Regions from separate parts of the Homo sapiens genome. Here all the other regions are linked to region 1. Evidence: promoter capture Hi-C in human tissues and cell types (Jung and others, 2019). All regions are on one chromosome and are shown on one strand. Each heading gives the region's core, a stretch centred on a gene start or on the middle of the fragment in contact. The rest is flanking DNA. Distances are from core to core; before and after follow the strand shown.

Region 1 (3,167 bases), core at 111-2,610:
GCTGTCCAGGAGGAAGGACCTGCCGGTGCAGAGGCATGCAGGTGAGAAAGGGGTGAGCTCCTCCAGAGGGGAGTGTCGGCTGGAGAATTCTCTAAAAATGCTGCAGCAGTGCTGGGAGAGAGGCCAGTGGGGAGAGATTTGAGACCATAGATTAACCAAGACATCCCCACCTCTTCCTCTTGGTAGAGGCGGCCCCGAAAGTCTAGACTCCCAAACTGGCTCACTCAGGTCCCACCACCTGGACCTGGGGCACATCTCCGAGCACTCCAGTGCCTAGCCAGGCTCCTCTGACTCCCATGCTGTAGACTGGGAGCACGGACAATGCAGGCGCTGGAGACCCCTGTGAGTCACACTGAGCAAGCACCCGAACACCTCTGTGCCTCAGTTTACTCATCTGTAAAAGGAGGAAAACAATAATTTCTTCTGCATGTGTGAATTGCAGGGCCAGGCTCAATGACATCTTAGCAATTAGACTTTTTGAGACAGGGTCTCGCTCTGTCACCCAGGCTGGATTGAAATGGCACAATCACAGCTCACTGCAGCCTTGACCTCCCAGGCTCAAGCGATCCTCCTCCCTCAGACTCCCAAGTAGCTGAGATTACAGGCACACACCACCATGCCTGGTTAATTTTTGCATTTTTTGTGGACACGGGGTCTCATTATGTTGCCCAGGCTGGTCTCCAACTCCTGGGCTCAAACAATCCTCCTGCCTTGGCCCCCCACAGTGCTGGGATTACAGGCATGAGCCACCATGCACGGCCACGATTATACTTACAGGTATGATTATTAGATACATGAACATCGTTATTGTTTTCCAGCCAGGAGTCAGAGGGCAGAAAGAGCGCCCCCCAAACCCCGGAAATCTGGGGCCTACCCAGCCTGGGTCCCAGCGCCTCCCCTCCCTCCCTCCCTCCTGAGCTTCAGTTTCCCCAGCCCTGCTCCTGGGGTGGTAAGACCACCCCACTAAACCCCGGGAGCCTGGGGTCCACCTAGCCCGGGTCTCAGCGCCTCCCTTCCCTCCCTCCCTCCTCAGGCTCAGTTTCTCCAGCCCAGCTCCCAGGGTGGAAAGAGCGCCCCCGCCAGCTCGGGAGTCTGGGGCACCCCCAGTCTGGGTCCCAGCGCCTCCTCTCCCTAACTTCCCTCCTCAGCCTCAGTTTCCCCAGCCCTTCTCCTAGGGTAGAAAGAGCGTCCCCCCAGCCCGGGAGTCTGGGGCCCGCCCAGCCTGGATCCCGGGGCCTCCTCTCCGTCCCCAGCCTCAGTTTCCCCAGCCCCCAGGACTCCAGGCGACCCCTCCGGCCTGCAGGGGCAGCACGGAGCGGCCCGGGCCACCCGGAAGGGCCCCGCCCCCGCGCCGGCCCCGCCCCGCCCCGGCTGCCCAGAACCGGGAGGCGGCGGCGGCGGCGGGGCCGGGGCCCGGGGCGGCGGCGGCGGGACGCGAGGACCATGGCTGCCTCCGAGCGCCGCGCCTTCGCGCACAAGATCAACAGGTAGTGTGGCCGCGGGGCCCCCTCCCACCTCCCCCACGTGGCCCGGCTCCGCCCCGGGGCGGTGCGACCCTCCCCGCCCGGGCGCCCCCAATTCAACCCCTTTCCGCCTCGGCCCGGGTCCCGCCAGCTTCCTCCGGCCGGGGCTGGGAGCGGGAGAAGGCGGGGAGGGCCGCGGGGGTCCCGGCGGGGGTCCCAGATGGGAGTCGCGTCGGGGCTGGGAGCGCGATGGCGGCTGCCGTTCTGCCTCCGTGACGCGCGGGGGTGTGTCCGGAGGGCTTCCCGGAGGAGGTGGCGTGGGGATGCGGATGACGGGCGCCCCCTGAACTCCCTGCGCTCCCCGTCCGCCTCTCGGCCCCTCACTGTCCCCGCGCTCTCGGAGATCGGGGTGGGCCGGACTTTCTGTTCCTTCCTCAGTGCCTGGTTTGGGGCAGGGAGGCTCCAGGCTCTGAGATTTGGGGACAGAGATGGGCTCCTTGGTGGCGTTTGAAACCCCTCGAGGAGTTTCCCGTGCCCTTCCCCCTCCAGGGTCCAGTGCCCAGCTGTCGGGGGGGGGGAAGGGGGACAGCTGTGGACGCCCCCCCACCTTCTGCTTCAGGCTCTCCCGTCACGGGCTGGACCGCGCTGGGGATGGATGGGTGATTGAATGGAGGGAGTGGGGGCTGGGGACAGAACCAGCTGGTGGGCAGACGGGGGAGGGGACAGGCCCCAGGCGCTGGGGGATCCATTTCCGTGGCCACTGGGGATTGTGAGAGTCACAGCCTGGGAGGGGTATATCAGACTCTCTGGGGCTGAAAAGCCTCGCCCCCAGTTGGCGGGGGGTCTTTGCGACAAGGGTGCGTTCAGAAGCTCAGGTATCCTCTCCCCGGGGGACCTGTCCTGACTGCCCCCAGGTGAAAGAGCTGCCCTGTGGGTTGGGCCCTGGTCTTATGGAGACAAAAGATCCCCCTCTTGGGATATAGTGGCGGAGAGAGACCAGAAGCCTGATCGAGTAGATTACCTGTCAGTGACAAGTGCTGTAGGGACAAGAAGACAGGGAAGGGGGATGGGAGGGTGGGGGCTGCTTGAGATGCGGGAGGTGGGTCAGGAAGGCCTGGATGAGCAGGTGCCTTTGAGCAAAAACCTCAAGGAGATGAGAGAGGGATCGATCGAGGCCAGTTTGTGGGGGGAAAGAGTGGGAAGGGTTTGTGCAAAGGCCCTGAGGCAGGAACAGAGAGCTGGAGGGGGACAGTAAGAGTAGAATGTACAGGGTCGTGTGGGCTGTGCAAGGGACTTTGACTTTGGACCCCAGGTGAGGTGGGAGCCATGGGGAGTTCTCAGCAGAGGAGGGATGAGACTTGGTGGCTGGGGCGTAATGGCTGGGCAATTTTTATGTTCTATCATTATCTTTGTCTGTAAATTGGCTTTCAAAATGTCTTAGACCTTTGGCGTCTTTGAGGCTGCAAACATTATTGCTGTCTGTTTCTTTTTCTTTCCTTTTCTTTTTCTTTTCTTTCTTTCTTTCTTTTTTTTTTTTTGAGACAGAGTCTCGCTCTGTCACCCAAACTGGAGTGCAATGGCACAATCTTGGCTCACTGCAACCTTCGCCTCCTGGGTTCAAGCGATTCTTGTGCCTCAGCCTCCTGAGTAGCTGGGGTTACAGGCGCCCACTACCACACCCAGCTAATTTTTGTATTTTTAGTA
Region 2 (3,124 bases), core at 7-2,506, 320 kb before region 1:
CTGGGACTACAGATACACCCCACCATGCCTGGATAATTTTTTTAAACTTTTTGTAGAGACAGAGTCTTGCTATGTTGGCCAGGCTGGTCTTGAACTCCTAGGCTCAAGTGATCCTCCAACCGCAGCTTCCCAAAGTGTTGGGATTACAGGCATGAGTCACTGCACCTGGCCTCCATCCCTATTTAAAACAAAAAAAGAAAAAAGAAAGAAAGAAAACCAAACCAAACCAAAAAAAAACGTTGTCACGGATGACCTTGGCCGGAGGGTAAGCAGTTGGTGGTGCAGGAGGCATTGCTGACGATCATGAGGTTTTTGTATCTCTCATGGTTCATGTCCATCACAAACATGGGGGCATGGGCAGAGGGGGCAGAGATGGTGATCCCTTTGGCTGCCCATCCTAAGCGAGCCCCAGCCTTCCCCATGGTCGTGAAGATGCTGCTGGTGGACTCCATGACATAACCAGTGCCAGCATCGTCACCCAATTTGATTTTGCTGGGATCTGGCTTCTAGAAGATGGGGATGAGATTCCCATTTCCTATTGATGACAAGCTTCCCTTCTCTTTCTCAGTCTTTTCTTTTCTTTTTTTTTTTTTTTAAGAGAGAGAGGATCTCCCTATGTTGCCTAGGCTGGTCCTGAACTCCTGGTCTCAAGTGATCCTCCCACCTCAACCTCCTAAGTAGCTGAGATTACAAGCATGAGCCACCACACCCAGCCCACTTCTCAGCTTTGATGGTGCCGCGGAACTTGCCGTGGGTAGAATCATATTGGAACATGTAGACCATGTAGTTGAGGTCAATGAAGGGGTCATTGAGGTGACAACATCCATTCTGCCAGAGTTAAAAGCAGCTCTGGTGCCCTGGTGACCAGGCACCCAATATGGCCAAATCCATTTACTCCTGTCTTCACTTTCACCACGGTGTCTCGGGGACATGCCTTTTTCACTGCATGAAAAGATGTGGCTGTCTGTCAAATGGGAGGAGCAGAGAGGCTCTGCCTTTTTAATCTTTAAGAAAAAAAATTCAGGCTGGGCATGGTGGCTCACGCCTGTAATCCCAGCACCTTGGGAGGCCAAGGCAGGCGGATCACAAGGTCAGGAGATCCAGACCATCCTTACTAACATGGTGAAACCCCGTCTCTACTAAAAAATACAAAAAATTAGCTGGGCGTGGTGGCGGGCACCTGTAGTCCCAGCTACTTGGGAGGCTGAGGCAGGAGAATGGCGTGAACCCGGGAGGCGGAGCTTGCAGTGAGCCAAGATCGCGCCACTGCACTCCAGCCTGGGTGATGGAGCAAGACTCTGTCTCAAATAATAATAATAATAATAATTTAGATGGGGTCTCACTGTGTCACCCAGGCTTGTCTCAAACTCCTGGGCTCCAGTGATCCACCCACCTCAACCTCCCAAAGTGCTGGGATTACAGGTGTGAGCCACCACACCCGGCCTATTATTATTATTTGAGACAGTCTTGCTCTTGTCGCCCAGGCTGGAGTGCAGTGGCACGATCTTGGCTCACTGCAACCTCTGCTTCCCGGGTTCAAGCGATTCTCCTGCCTCAGCCTCCCGAGTAGCTGGGATTACAGGTGGCTGCCACCACGCCCAGCTAATTTTTTTTGTATTTTTAGTAGAGATGGGGTTTCACCTTGTTGGTCAGGCTGGTCTCAAACACCTGACCTCAGGTGATCCGCCCACCTCAGCCTCCCAAAGTGCTGGGATTACAGGCGTGAGCCACTGCTCCTGGCCCTGTCTTTTAATTTTTAAAGGGTAGGGGGCACCATGACCCATCTTTGCCCACCTAAACCACCTATTCAGCAGCCCATGCCCCGCAGCCCACAGCTGGGGGACATCATGCAAAATCTAAGTCAGATCTGTCCCTCTGATCAGAACCCTCTGTGGCTCCCACCTTACCCAGATAAAAGCCCCCTTCCCTGCAGCCCCCAAGAGCACACGCAACCTGCCCCACCCACACCCTTCTCTGTTCCTTGCCCTTGACCTTGCAGACTCAACCTTCCGGATTCACTTCCCCCTTGCTCACTCTGCTCCAGCCACAAAAGCCAATTTTTGGTTCCTCAAATCAAACTAACTCATGACAGCATTTTGAATTTTGAAGCCTTGGGGCCCCGAAAAAGTCCATCTTTTTTTTTTTTTTTTAAGATCGAGTCTCACTGTGTTGCCCAGGCTGGAGTGCGGTGGTGTGATCTCGACTCACTGCAACCTCTGCCTCCCTGGTTCAAGCAATTCTCCGGCCTCAGCCTCCCAAGTAGCTGGGATTACAGGTGCTCGCTGCCATGCCCAGCTAATTTTTTTGTATTTTAGTAGAGAAAGGGTTTCACCTTGTTGCCTAGGCTGATCTTGAACTCCTGAACTCAGGCAATCTGTCTGCCTCAGCCTCCCAAAGTGCTGGGATTACAGGCGTGAGCCACTGCGCCCGGCCCAAAAATCCATCTTTGTGGGTTCCTTTGTAAATGTGTAGTCAATTTAGAAATTTAGAAACACGGTTTCCCTTAAGCCTTTATTTAGTTACAATCACAACTAACATGTTACTTATACACCTGGCAAAGTGAAACATCAAAAAATTAATTCAGGGCCTGGCCTCAGGCCTGTAATCCCAGCACTTTGGGATGCCAAGGCAGACGGATCACTTGAGGTCAGGAGAATCGCTTGAACCTGGGAGACGGAGGTTGGGACGAGCTGAAGATCACACCACTGCGCTCCAGCTTGGGTGACAGAGTGAGTGAGACTCCATCTCAACAAAAAGAAAAAGAAATATCACTTTAAGAGGTCATTGGATGCATATTTGGGTCCGTTTATAAGTTTAGTGGATTGAAATTAACATTTTACATTTTATAAGTGTGATGCATTTTATTCTATACTCTTTTACTACTATAATAATAATTATTATTATTAATTTTTTTTTTGAGATGGAGTCTCGCTCTGTCACCCAAGCCGGATGGAGTGCAGTGGCGCGATCTTGGCTCACTGCAAGCTCCACCTCCCAGGTTCATGCCATTCTCCTGCCTCAGCCTCCCGAGTAGCTGGGACTACAGGCGCCCACCACCACGCCCAGCTAATTTTTTTGTATTTTTAGTAGAGACGGGGTTTCACCGTGTTAGCCATGTTGCTCT
Region 3 (2,934 bases), core at 241-2,740, 330 kb after region 1:
GCCTCAGTTTGCAAACTGCTGGGATTACAGACATCACCATGCCAGGCCACAACCCAAACTTGAAAAAGAAAATCTAAGTGGCCTTAGAAGAGTTTGCAAGTCAGCTGACCAATGTGGTACCTCCTTAAGGAGGGCCTCTGAGGCCCGATGAAAAAGGCTTATATAAAAGGCTCATGACCAGCTCTGCCAGTGATGAACATGTGTCAAGTCGTTCTGCTGTCCCCAACTCCCGGACCCAGGTGGCTCTGAATTAGCTTCAGCTAATAAAGAACAAAGACGGGGGGCAGAAAGGCTCCCCAAACTTGTGCAAATCCAGTGAGAAAACACTTTGCACATCATCTGTCTCAGCTGTTCTGCAGGTGAGGCACACTCAGAACTGCACCACCCCAGGCAAGCAGTTTGCCAGGACTCGGGGGCCTCAGGGTTTCATCTCGGGGCCTCCGCCTGCACCAGCGAGTGGGCCTGGCTCAGGGCGAGCCTGTCCTTCTTCTCCTTCTGCAAGACCTGCTCCTCCCACAGCGCCTGGTCCACCTGATCGTCGGTGAGCACGACAGGCTTGTACTTCTCATCGAAGAGCCGCTCGTTGGTCTCGGAATGCAGCTGCTGGGGCCCGACCACCCGCAAATGCGCCGGCAGGTGCAGGAATTCGTCGTCGTTGATGTCGCAGTCGCGCATCCAGGCCCCCAGCACCCACCAGCGACCCACGAAGCCCACGTCCAGGACCCGGCCGGGGAAGTCGGTCCAGCGGGGCTGCAGGTAGCGGCAACGCGCCTGGTAGAGGCTGGCCTGGGCGTCGAAGGGCGCCTCGTACACCAGCGAGCAGAGCCCCAGGTTGACGTAGCGCAGGCGGCCACGGCCCCGCAGCCAGAGCAGCCTCTGCACGAAGGCTTCGGACTCGCGGTTGCGGGTGGCCGGCGCCAGCAGCAGGAGGGTCCCCGACGCCTCCAGCAGCGCCTCCTCGAAGGCACCCTCGCTGGGCGCCAGCGTGAAGCAGGCCGCCGCGCCGCCCAGCAGACCCACATACACAGCGGCGCGCCCCGGCCGGGCCCTAGCCTCCGCCGAAGCGTCCCTGCAGGCCTCGGCGTAGTCCCGGAGCAGCGCGCGGGCCCAGGACCCTGAGGGGAGAGGAGCGCGGTAAGAGTGATCCGGCCGCGGCGGCCACCCACCCTGTCGCGGCGGCCACCCACCCTGCCGCCTTCCGCCGCTACTCACCCAGCCGCGCCCACACTCCCGGCTTCGCCACTACCGCGTCGCCCGCCTCTGCGCGGCGCCGGGACCAAAATCTCCTCAGAGCCGCCGCGGCCATCCTCTTCCGTCTTGGGGGTCCTTGCTCCGGGAAGAAACTCCTGATACCCGACGTTAAGAGCCCGGGAGTCTCTTCTGCGCAAGCGCCAACTTTACCGGAAGTGGCTTCCCAACGGGAGAGGATAGAAAGAGGACAGGCGCCGGATGTTGCTGTCAGGTCTGAGTCGGTTGGAGTCTGACGGGTAGGCGAGACGCGCAGGCGCAGAGAGCCCCAGCCACGCCGGCCCAGGTGGCCTCAGGTGAGGGGGGGCGGAGCGCACCTGTGGGGACGGGACGACGAGTTCAAGCCTCCGTGGGTGCAGTTGGTCGCCAGGTAGGGCTGGGGGCCGAGGGACCGGCTCGGGGGCGGGGGGGAAGTGTGCCTGACCGGTCTCTGTCCTCAGCGAGGGATGCGGAGACGCCCCTGAACGACCATGGCATCGGCCGACGAGCTGACCTTCCATGGTGAGTGCGGCCCCGACGTGGCCGGATCTCCCACTCCCGCCCCGGGCCAGAACCTCCCCCCGATACGGCTTCCAATTTCTCTACCCCGAAGCCTAGGCGGCTGTGAACCCTGACCCAGGAGTGAGACCCATCTCTGACTCGAACCCCGCCCCCGCCCTGAACTCAGACCTCAAACCCGAGCCTCTCGTCCCCAGACCCTGACCCCATCCCAGCGTCAACCCTAAGTTGCAGTTCCACTTTAGGAGGAAGGGAACAGATGTCCTCCGGATGCCTCCAAACTGAGGAAGTTGGGCCCCACCTTGGGGGAGATCAATGGCTCAGCAGAGCCTCCGCCCCCAGATGAGCATCGGTTTAGCTTGGGCCCAGTCGAGTTCTTTCCACCCCTCAAACGTGCGTGTGTCCCATATACCTCCTCCACAGAATTCGAGGAGGCCACTAATCTTCTGGCTGACACCCCAGATGCAGCCACCACCAGCAGAAGCGATCAGCTGACCCCACAAGGGCACGTGGCTGTGGCCGTGGGCTCAGGTGGCAGCTATGGAGCCGAGGATGAGGTGGAGGAGGAGAGTGACAAGGCCGCGGTGAGTCCCTGTGTCCTGCCTCCTTGCAGCCCCCAGCTGACCCAGGCTCTCCGGGCAGGCACTGAATGCCCGCAATGTGCAGCTCCTGCAGGAGCAGCAGCAGCAGCAGCAGCCGGGATTCTGGACCTTCAGCTACTATCAGAGCTTCTTTGACGTGGACACCTCACAGGTCAGGCTGGGGAGGCAGGTGGGATGGGGCTCAGAGTTATGCTCAGGGTTCAGCCACTCTTCCCCTGGGCAGGGTGCTGGTGATGGTGGGTGCTGGTGAACGAACTGTGGTGCTCTCAAAGGGTTATGGTGGGACTGGTTATGGATCGGGACTATGGGAACACAGGGGACACACACAATCTGGTGGGTTAGAGAAAGGCCTCCTGGGGGAGGTGAGGAATTGGCTGAGACCTAAAGGAGACAGAAGGCTTCCCTGGGGAATAGGGTAGGGAAGCAGGAGTATATGTTCCAGGCACAGGGAACAGCATATGCAGAAGACCAAAGATGGACTGGGCGCAGTGGCTCCTGCCTGTAATCCCAGCACTTAAGGGGGCCGAGGTGGGCAGATAACCTGAGGAGTTCAAGACCAGCCTGGCTAACATGGGGAAACCCCGTC

What was found. The method cuts DNA at HindIII sites, captures the fragments that hold promoters and counts their contacts. A contact is called where the count stands out against the background at its distance.
Region 2: a fragment that was not itself captured here is called in contact with the fragment with the promoter of DOCK6 in region 1 in 6 of the 25 tissues and cell types used here (aorta, dorsolateral prefrontal cortex, lymphoblastoid cells and 3 more).
Region 3: the fragment with the promoter of YIPF2 here is called in contact with the fragment with the promoter of DOCK6 in region 1 in 2 of the 25 tissues and cell types used here (heart left ventricle and lymphoblastoid cells).

The regions. Positions count from the first base shown.
Region 1 is chr19:11,260,717-11,263,883 of GRCh38, reverse strand. DOCK6 (dedicator of cytokinesis 6) reads left to right here and starts at 1,360. Exons shown (of 48, transcript NM_020812.4): 1 at 1,360-1,487. The coding sequence starts at 1,444. RefSeq lists silencers at 1,276-1,435, 1,506-1,565, 1,646-1,785. The HindIII fragment of the contact is 27,433 bases long and covers 1-3,167 here.
Region 2 is chr19:11,583,038-11,586,161 of GRCh38, reverse strand. LOC124904638 (a long non-coding RNA gene) reads right to left here. Exons shown (of 2, transcript XR_007067140.1): 2 at 2,498-2,745. It also overlaps the pseudogene GAPDHP76. Among named protein-coding and RNA genes, the nearest start is that of ACP5, 7.0 kb to the right of the region's middle. RefSeq lists enhancers at 2,068-2,127, 2,138-2,277. The HindIII fragment of the contact is 7,524 bases long and covers 1-3,124 here.
Region 3 is chr19:10,927,195-10,930,128 of GRCh38, reverse strand. YIPF2 (Yip1 domain family member 2) reads left to right here and starts at 1,490. Exons shown (of 10, transcript NM_001321439.2): 1 at 1,490-1,618; 2 at 1,689-1,749; 3 at 2,170-2,330; 4 at 2,413-2,499. The coding sequence starts at 1,719. It overlaps TIMM29 (translocase of inner mitochondrial membrane 29), which reads right to left and starts at 1,318. Exons shown (of 2, transcript NM_138358.4): 1 at 1,213-1,318; 2 at 1-1,115. The coding sequence starts at 1,306. The coding sequence ends at 427. RefSeq lists silencers at 873-922, 963-1,242 and enhancers at 1,456-2,156, 2,157-2,859. The HindIII fragment of the contact is 42,517 bases long and covers 1-2,934 here.